2 separate regions of the Homo sapiens genome follow, and region 2 is linked to region 1. Evidence: promoter capture Hi-C in human tissues and cell types (Jung and others, 2019). All regions are on one chromosome and are shown on one strand. The core of a region is centred on a gene start or on the middle of the fragment in contact, and the rest is flanking DNA. Distances in the headings are between cores, read along the strand shown. Region 1 holds the start of ASPM (assembly factor for spindle microtubules). Region 2 overlaps ASPM (assembly factor for spindle microtubules).

Evidence for each region. The method cuts DNA at HindIII sites, captures the fragments that hold promoters and counts their contacts. A contact is called where the count stands out against the background at its distance.
Region 2: a fragment that was not itself captured here is called in contact with the fragment with the promoter of ASPM in region 1 in 1 of the 25 tissues and cell types used here (thymus).

The regions. Positions count from the first base shown.
Region 1 is chr1:197,144,485-197,148,055 of GRCh38, forward strand. ASPM (assembly factor for spindle microtubules) reads right to left here and starts at 2,185. Exons shown (of 28, transcript NM_018136.5): 1 at 1,657-2,185. The coding sequence starts at 1,953. RefSeq lists a silencer at 1,690-1,869. The HindIII fragment of the contact is 11,107 bases long and covers 1-3,571 here.
Region 2 is chr1:197,110,144-197,113,703 of GRCh38, forward strand. The region is part of intron 17 of ASPM (assembly factor for spindle microtubules); the gene reads right to left. Among named protein-coding and RNA genes, the nearest start is that of ASPM, 35 kb to the right of the region's middle. The HindIII fragment of the contact is 5,520 bases long and covers 1-3,560 here.

The sequences.
Region 1 (3,571 bases), core at 935-3,434:
AAAGATGATCAGCTAAATTCCTTCTTCCTTACAAATTCCTCTAAGGTCCACATCATCATACTGAGATTTCTTAAACAGGTATTATTGTTCCAGGCATAAGTGCAGGTATCCTGTAAAACTCATTTAATGCTAACATCCCTAGGAAGCAGGTATTATGATTATGCACATTTTACAGATGAAGTAACTAACATCCAGAAAAGTCTGCCAAAGTCACGCAGGTACCTATTAGAACCCAGGCAGTCTAATGCCAGAGTTTGGACTTTAACATCTACACCCCACACCCTGGCAGGTAGACAGAATCTGCCAAATTTAAACGCTGACATGACAAAACAAATTTTGTTTTTCAGGAGAAACAGACAAGTTTCTGTTTTAAAGGAGAAATAATATAACATCATAAACAACTAATTTTAAAAAATAAGAATGGTGCATTTTTACTCTATAAAATAGTTTATTCTAAAAATACCACAAAATTTAGTTCCACATTATAACAAAAAAGAGTAAGTTGAAGTATTATGTGGATAGAAAAGAAATCTGTCTTTCCAAAGAAAGGAAAGCAGGCAGTGATTCATGAAACAGAGGGGCGGGGTGGGTAGGTTCTGAAGTGTAGATAGATGAACCATTGGTGACACACAAGTTAAGGGACCTCAGATTAGAATCTCTTTTTTCTGCCTAATGAAGTGGTTATTAGCCTACTAGTTCAGACCTCCTCGGCTAACGGTTTTCATACTTTTGGTGATTCTACTCAATGGAAAGGTCACAGCAGTCAAAATAAAAACATAAATTCTCCAGTCTTTGGTGAAGGGGATTGGAGCATTACTCTTGCAAATGCAATGCAGTAAAAGAAAGCTACAGGAGTTCTTGAAACAACATTTATAAAATTAAATTTGATGCAGCATTAAAATTACACTTAACAGCAAAGAAAAAAAGGACTAAAATACTAAAGTGTGCATACATACTACACGTATATATTGAAAACAACTCTGAATAGGTTTTTTTGGTTTTTATTGTAGGCATTTAGCCAGAACAAAGCTCACTATTTCACCGGAAAAAAAAACCAGTTACCTCGACTCTAAGGGTACATATGGAAACTAAAATGCATATTAAGATGGCTGATAGAAATTTTAAAAAAAGCTGCTTTAACCAACCAAGGTACTCCTGTCAATCTTAAAAAAGTGTTAAAAAAGTGCATTGTCTATTAATTTAGAACGGCAAGGCTATTTCACAACGCCTTAAGTCTAGTAAAAGTGCTTGTCAATTTAACAGAGAAGTCTATATAACTTGCTCCTAAAGATGCTAAGTGCGCGCGCGTTTATGTGTTGTCCCCGCCCAAGTTAGCGTCTATCCTAGCCTTCAATTAGAGAATATATATATATATATATATATAATATTGACACATATATATATACTCACACACATGTGTATGCGTCAAGGGCCCACCCACAGTTATTGAAAAGGAACTGACTTCACTCTCTAAGGGTCTTTTCTGATTTCTTTTCCAAGAGCCACCCACAGTTATTGAGTGAAAGGGAACTGACTTTATTCTCTAAGGGTCTTTTCTGATTTCTTCTCCAATCGTCAACCTTCCTGAGGAGGGTGGCAGGAAAGATAGCGGAGAAGCAGAACACCGGCCTGGAGCACGCTCCTCCTGAGACCTACCTGCAACACGAAACAGCGCTGCGACACACTGAAGCCCAGGTCCGCGGCCGGGAAGTGGGAGATCTTCACTTCTGCCACCTCCTCGTTAGGGTTGTCTAGGGCCAGAGACAGCGTCCGTGAGGCTCCCAGGAGAACGTCCCCGAAGCAAAGGAAAGGAGACCTGCAGAAGTGGCTGAGAGACAGGACCGGCGGGGAAGACGCCTCCTCCTCGGCCGCGGGGCCCCGCAGCCCCGCGGGCGGCCTCCGCTCGGTCGGGCTCACTTCCCAGCAGCCTCGCCCCACTCGCCGGTTCGCCATGGCAGATTCGAGACCCCTCCTGGATCTCCTTGCCCCGCTCCCACGAGGCGGCTCCGGAGCGGGGATCCGGGACTTACGCTGACCGCTTCCCCTCAGGGGCGGCTGTAGAGGTCGTGGGAGTGAATTCGGCCCTTTTTCTTTTCCACTAACCTACTCCCTAGAAAACAGAAAACAAGCCCAATAAACTCGCAAATTAAAAAGAGGAGCCAAACAAGTATGGCGTTTTGACTCTGTTTAAACTTGCCGCCTCCACCAATGAGGACCTCCGGGCACCGCCCTCCTCGTCACGGGACCAATCGGTGAGCAGCATCCCCTGGCCAATGAGACGGCGGCGCTTCATTTGAATGATTGCATCCGGCCGCCAATCGCTATCTGCGGAGGAGGTGAGAACGGTAGCGGAATCCTGGCCACCGTCTAAAACCCGGGGCTTAGAATTGAAATTCGTCTTTATATTTTTGGTTGTGCTGAAGGGAAGGGAGTCACAGCATTTCCACAATACATGTAGTAATCATTGCGGTTTCCAGGAACAATCATAGATAAAACTGTTACGTAGGCAAAAATTGGTTTATGCCACTCCTCTCATATGCATACCCCGCCCAGAATTATATTAACTTTACTGTCGCGGTTTCCAGGGCTGAATGGTAGAGATGTAAAGATAATTAGTTTGTATGAACATGCTTATTTTAGTGACAACATAGCAGGGACTCAGTACATTTACATGCTGTTAATTACCTCGGGACGCTGGGAGCAAAACCAGGTAAACAAATGAAACCTGAGATTACCAGTAATTCATAAATGATTGTTTTGACTGGCAATGCCCTTCACAAATATCTTATTAGTTTTTATTTCAATTGTAGGGATCTAATAATAATTATAGCTTACATATTAGGGATTTTTTAAATTATTTATTTATTTTGAGATGGAGTCTCGCTCTGTCTCCCAGGCTGGAGTGCAGTGACGTGATCTTGGTTCACTGCAACCTCCGCCTCCCGGGTTCAAGCGATTCTCCTGCCTCAGCCTCCCAAGTAGCTGGAATTAGAGGCGCGCCTCACCACGACTGGCTAATTTTTGTATTTTTGGTAGAGAGGGGAGTTCGCCATGTTGGCCAGGCTGGTCTGGAACTCCTGGCCTCAAGTGATCCGCCTGCCTCCGCCTCGGCCTCCCAAAGTGCTGGGATTACAGGCCTGAGCGGCGCCCGACCCTAGGCTAGGGATTTTTTAAAAATCCTTTACCTATTTATCTCAACCTTTGCCTTAAACCTACGAGGTATCTCTTAGGGCGTAGGTACCATTATTTGTATCTTACAGATGAGGAATACAGGTCATACAGCTAAGTAGGAAGTGGCATAACCCAGATAGGTACACATGCCTGTAATCCCAGCAGTTTGGCCCTAGTCTTGCTCTTACCCACTACACTATATTGCCTCTAAAGGCAGTAGAAAACTTAAAAAATAAAAATAATGTCTGGATGTATGTATGGTTACACAAAACATGTAAAAAGAGAAGTCAATGGGAAATCAAAATAAGGAAGATGAGACATGAAATTATATTCAATGGTGTCCAATTTCACCTGAAGTTGGACCTTAACAATATTTAAACGAAATTTTTCCACTGGGCAC
Region 2 (3,560 bases), core at 704-3,203, 35 kb before region 1:
TGGACGAATCACAATATCCATTAAGGCTTACTATAAAGCTGCAGTAATCAAGAAACTGTGGTATTGATGAAGGTATAGACACATGTATTAATGAAACAGAATACAGTCCAGAAGATCAACACACATATGACCAACTGATTTATGACAAAGGTGCAAAGACATTTCAATGTGGAAAGAATAGTTTTTTACAGCAAATAGTGTTGGAATAATTGGACATGTATATATAAAAAAAGTGAACATTGACCTAACCCTTACCTTAGAGGAGAACTAACACAAAATACATCATAGGTCAAAATTTAGAATGAAAAATTATAAAACTTTTAGAGTACTTTGATATGACGCTAAAAGCATAATCCATAAAAGAAGAAAAGTGATAACTGGATTCCAATAAAATGAACTACTTCTGCTGAACAAAAAGCCCTGTTACAAGAATAAAAAGACAAGCTGCAGATTGGGAGAAATTGTGTGAAATCACTAACAAAGAAGGAGGATTACCTACTAGATATCCAGATTTCACCTACTGCTACAGTGCGAGGCTCAAAGATAGACAAATGGACCAATTGAATAGAAAGAAATACTAGAAACAGAATCACACATATAAGAATAGCTGATGTCTACTACACAAATAGAAAAGGGTAGAGAACCCAAAAATAAAACCACATACCTAAAACCACCTGATCTTTGACATAGTTGACAATAACAAACAATGGGGAAAGGATATGCTATTCAATAAACGGTCAGTGCAGAAGATTAAAATTGGACGCTTTCCTTTCACCACATACAAAAAATTAATGCAAGATGGATTAAAGACTTAAATGTAAGACCCAAACCAATAAAAACCCTAGAAGAAAACCTAGGAAATACTACTCCGGATATCAGCCTTGGGAAAGAATTTATAACAAAGTCCCCAAAAGCAATTGCAACAAAAAACATAATTGACAAATGGGACCTAATTAAACTAAAGAGATTCTGCACAGCAAAATAAACTATCAACAGAATAAACAGACAACCTACAGAATGGGAGAAAATATTTGCAAACAATGTATCTAACAAAGGTCTAATATTCAGTATCTATAAGGAACTTAATTCAAAAAACAAAAAACAAATAACCCCACTAAAAAATGGGCAAAGGACATACACACCTCTCAAAGGAAGACACACATGCGGCCAAGAAATCTATGAAAAAATGCCCATCACCACTAAACATCAGAAAAATACAAATCAGAACCACAGTGAGATACCATCTCACCCGTCAAGATGGCTGTTTTTAAAAAGTCAAAAAACAGATGCTGGCAAGATTACAGAGAAAAGAGAACACTTATATACTCCTGGTGGAAATGTAAATTAGTTCGGCTACTTTGAAAATCAATTTGGAGATTTTTCAAAGAACTTAAAACAGAACTTCCATTTGATCCAGAAAACCCACTACGGGGTATATACCCAAAGAAAATAAATCATTCTACCAAAAAGACACATGGATTCATATGTTCATCGCAGAACTAATTCACAATAGCAAAGACATGGAATCAACCAAGACGTCCATCAACAGTGGACTGGATAAAGAAAATGTGGTACACACACACTGGAGACATACATGCAGCCAACAATCATATGGAAAAAGGTCAACATCACTGATCATTATAGAAATGCAAATCAAAGCCACAATAAGATACTATCTCACATCAATCATAATGGCTATTACTAAAAAGTCAAAAAGTCAGATGCTGGTGAGGTTGTAGAGAAAAAGGAATGCTTATACACTGTTGGTGGGAGTATAAATTAGCTCAACCATTGTGGAAGACAGTGTGGTGATTTCTCAAAGGCCTAAAAGCAGAAATACCATTCAACCCAGCAATCCCATTAATGGGTATTTACCCAAAGGAATATAAATTGTTCAATCATAAAGAAGCATGCGTGATGTTCACTGCAGCAATATTCACAATAGCAAAGACATGGAATCAACCTAAATGTCCATCAATGACAGACTGGATGAAGAAAATGCGGTACATATATACCATGGAATACAATGCAGCCACAAGAAAGAATGAAATCACGTCCTTTGCAGGGACATGGATGGAGCTGGAGGCCATTATCCTTAGCAAACTAACACGGGAACAGAAAACCAAACACTGCATGTTCTTACTTATAAGTGGGAGCTAAATGATGAGAAAACATGGACACACAGAGGGAAACAACACACAGTGGGGCCTATTGGAGAGTGAAGGGTGGGAGGAGGGAAAGGATCAGGAAAAATAACTAATGGGTACTAGGCTTAATACTTGGGTGACAAAATAATCTGTACAACAAACCCCCATGACACAAGTCTACCTATATAACTGTGACAGAAAAATATATTGGGCCCCCCAAATCACTAAGCTTAAAGAAAAACTCAAGCTGGAAACTGTTTAGGGCAAACCTGTCTCCCATTCTATTCAGCTACCCCTGTGCTCACTGAGGTAAATGCATATCTGATGCCTCCTTTGGAAAGGCTAATCAGAAATTTGAAAGAATGCAACTGTTTGTCTCTCACCTATCTGACCTGGAAGCCCCCTCCCTGCTTTGGGTCTTCCTGCCTTTGTCTCAAGTTATCCTGACTTTCCAGACTAAACCAATGTACTTCTTACATATATTGATTGATGTCTCATGTCTCCCTAAAATGTATAAAACCAAGCTGTGCCCCGACTGCCTTGGGCACATGTCAAGACTTCCTGATGCAGTGTAATGGGTGCACATCCTCAACTCTGGCAAAATAAACTTTCTAAATTAACTGAGACCTGACTCAAATTTTGGGGGTTCATATAACAAACCTGCAAATGTACCCCTAAACCTAAAATAAAAGGTAATTTTCAAAAAAAGGAAATGTAGCACATAAGCACCATGGAATACCATGCAGCCATAAAAAAAATTATGTCCTTTGCAGTAATGTGCATTTAGCTGGAGGCCATTATCCTAAGTGATGTAACACAGGAACAGAAAACCAAATATTACATATTCTCACTTATAAGTGGGAGCTAAACACTGAATACATATGGACACAAAGATGGGAACAATAGACACCGGGACTGCTTGATGAGCGCAAGTCAGAGGGAAGTGTGGGTTGGAAGATTATCAGGTACTATGCTCAATACCTGGGTGACAGGATCATTTGTACACTAAGGCTTAATGACATGCAATTTACCCATGTAACATATCTGCTCACATATACCCAGAATCTAAAATAGAAGTAGAAGAAACAAAAAAAGAATATATAATGTATACTGAAGGTAGCATGGCAAAAGGGCAAGGATGGTCATTTCAGTAAAACATGCTGAAACAACTGGATAGCCATATATTTTTTAAATGTCCTCTAAAACAAATCATCTAAAAATTAGTTTTAGGTGAGATCAAAATGAGGAAGACAAAACATTAATGCTTGTAGAGTATAACATAGGCATACATCTACAAGGCCTTAAGATAAAGAAGATAAAGAAACACTCCTTATATAATACACAAAAAATACTAACAATAAAAGAAAAACAAGAAATTTCATTAGTAAGATATAAAACAGTAAGTTATAGCCT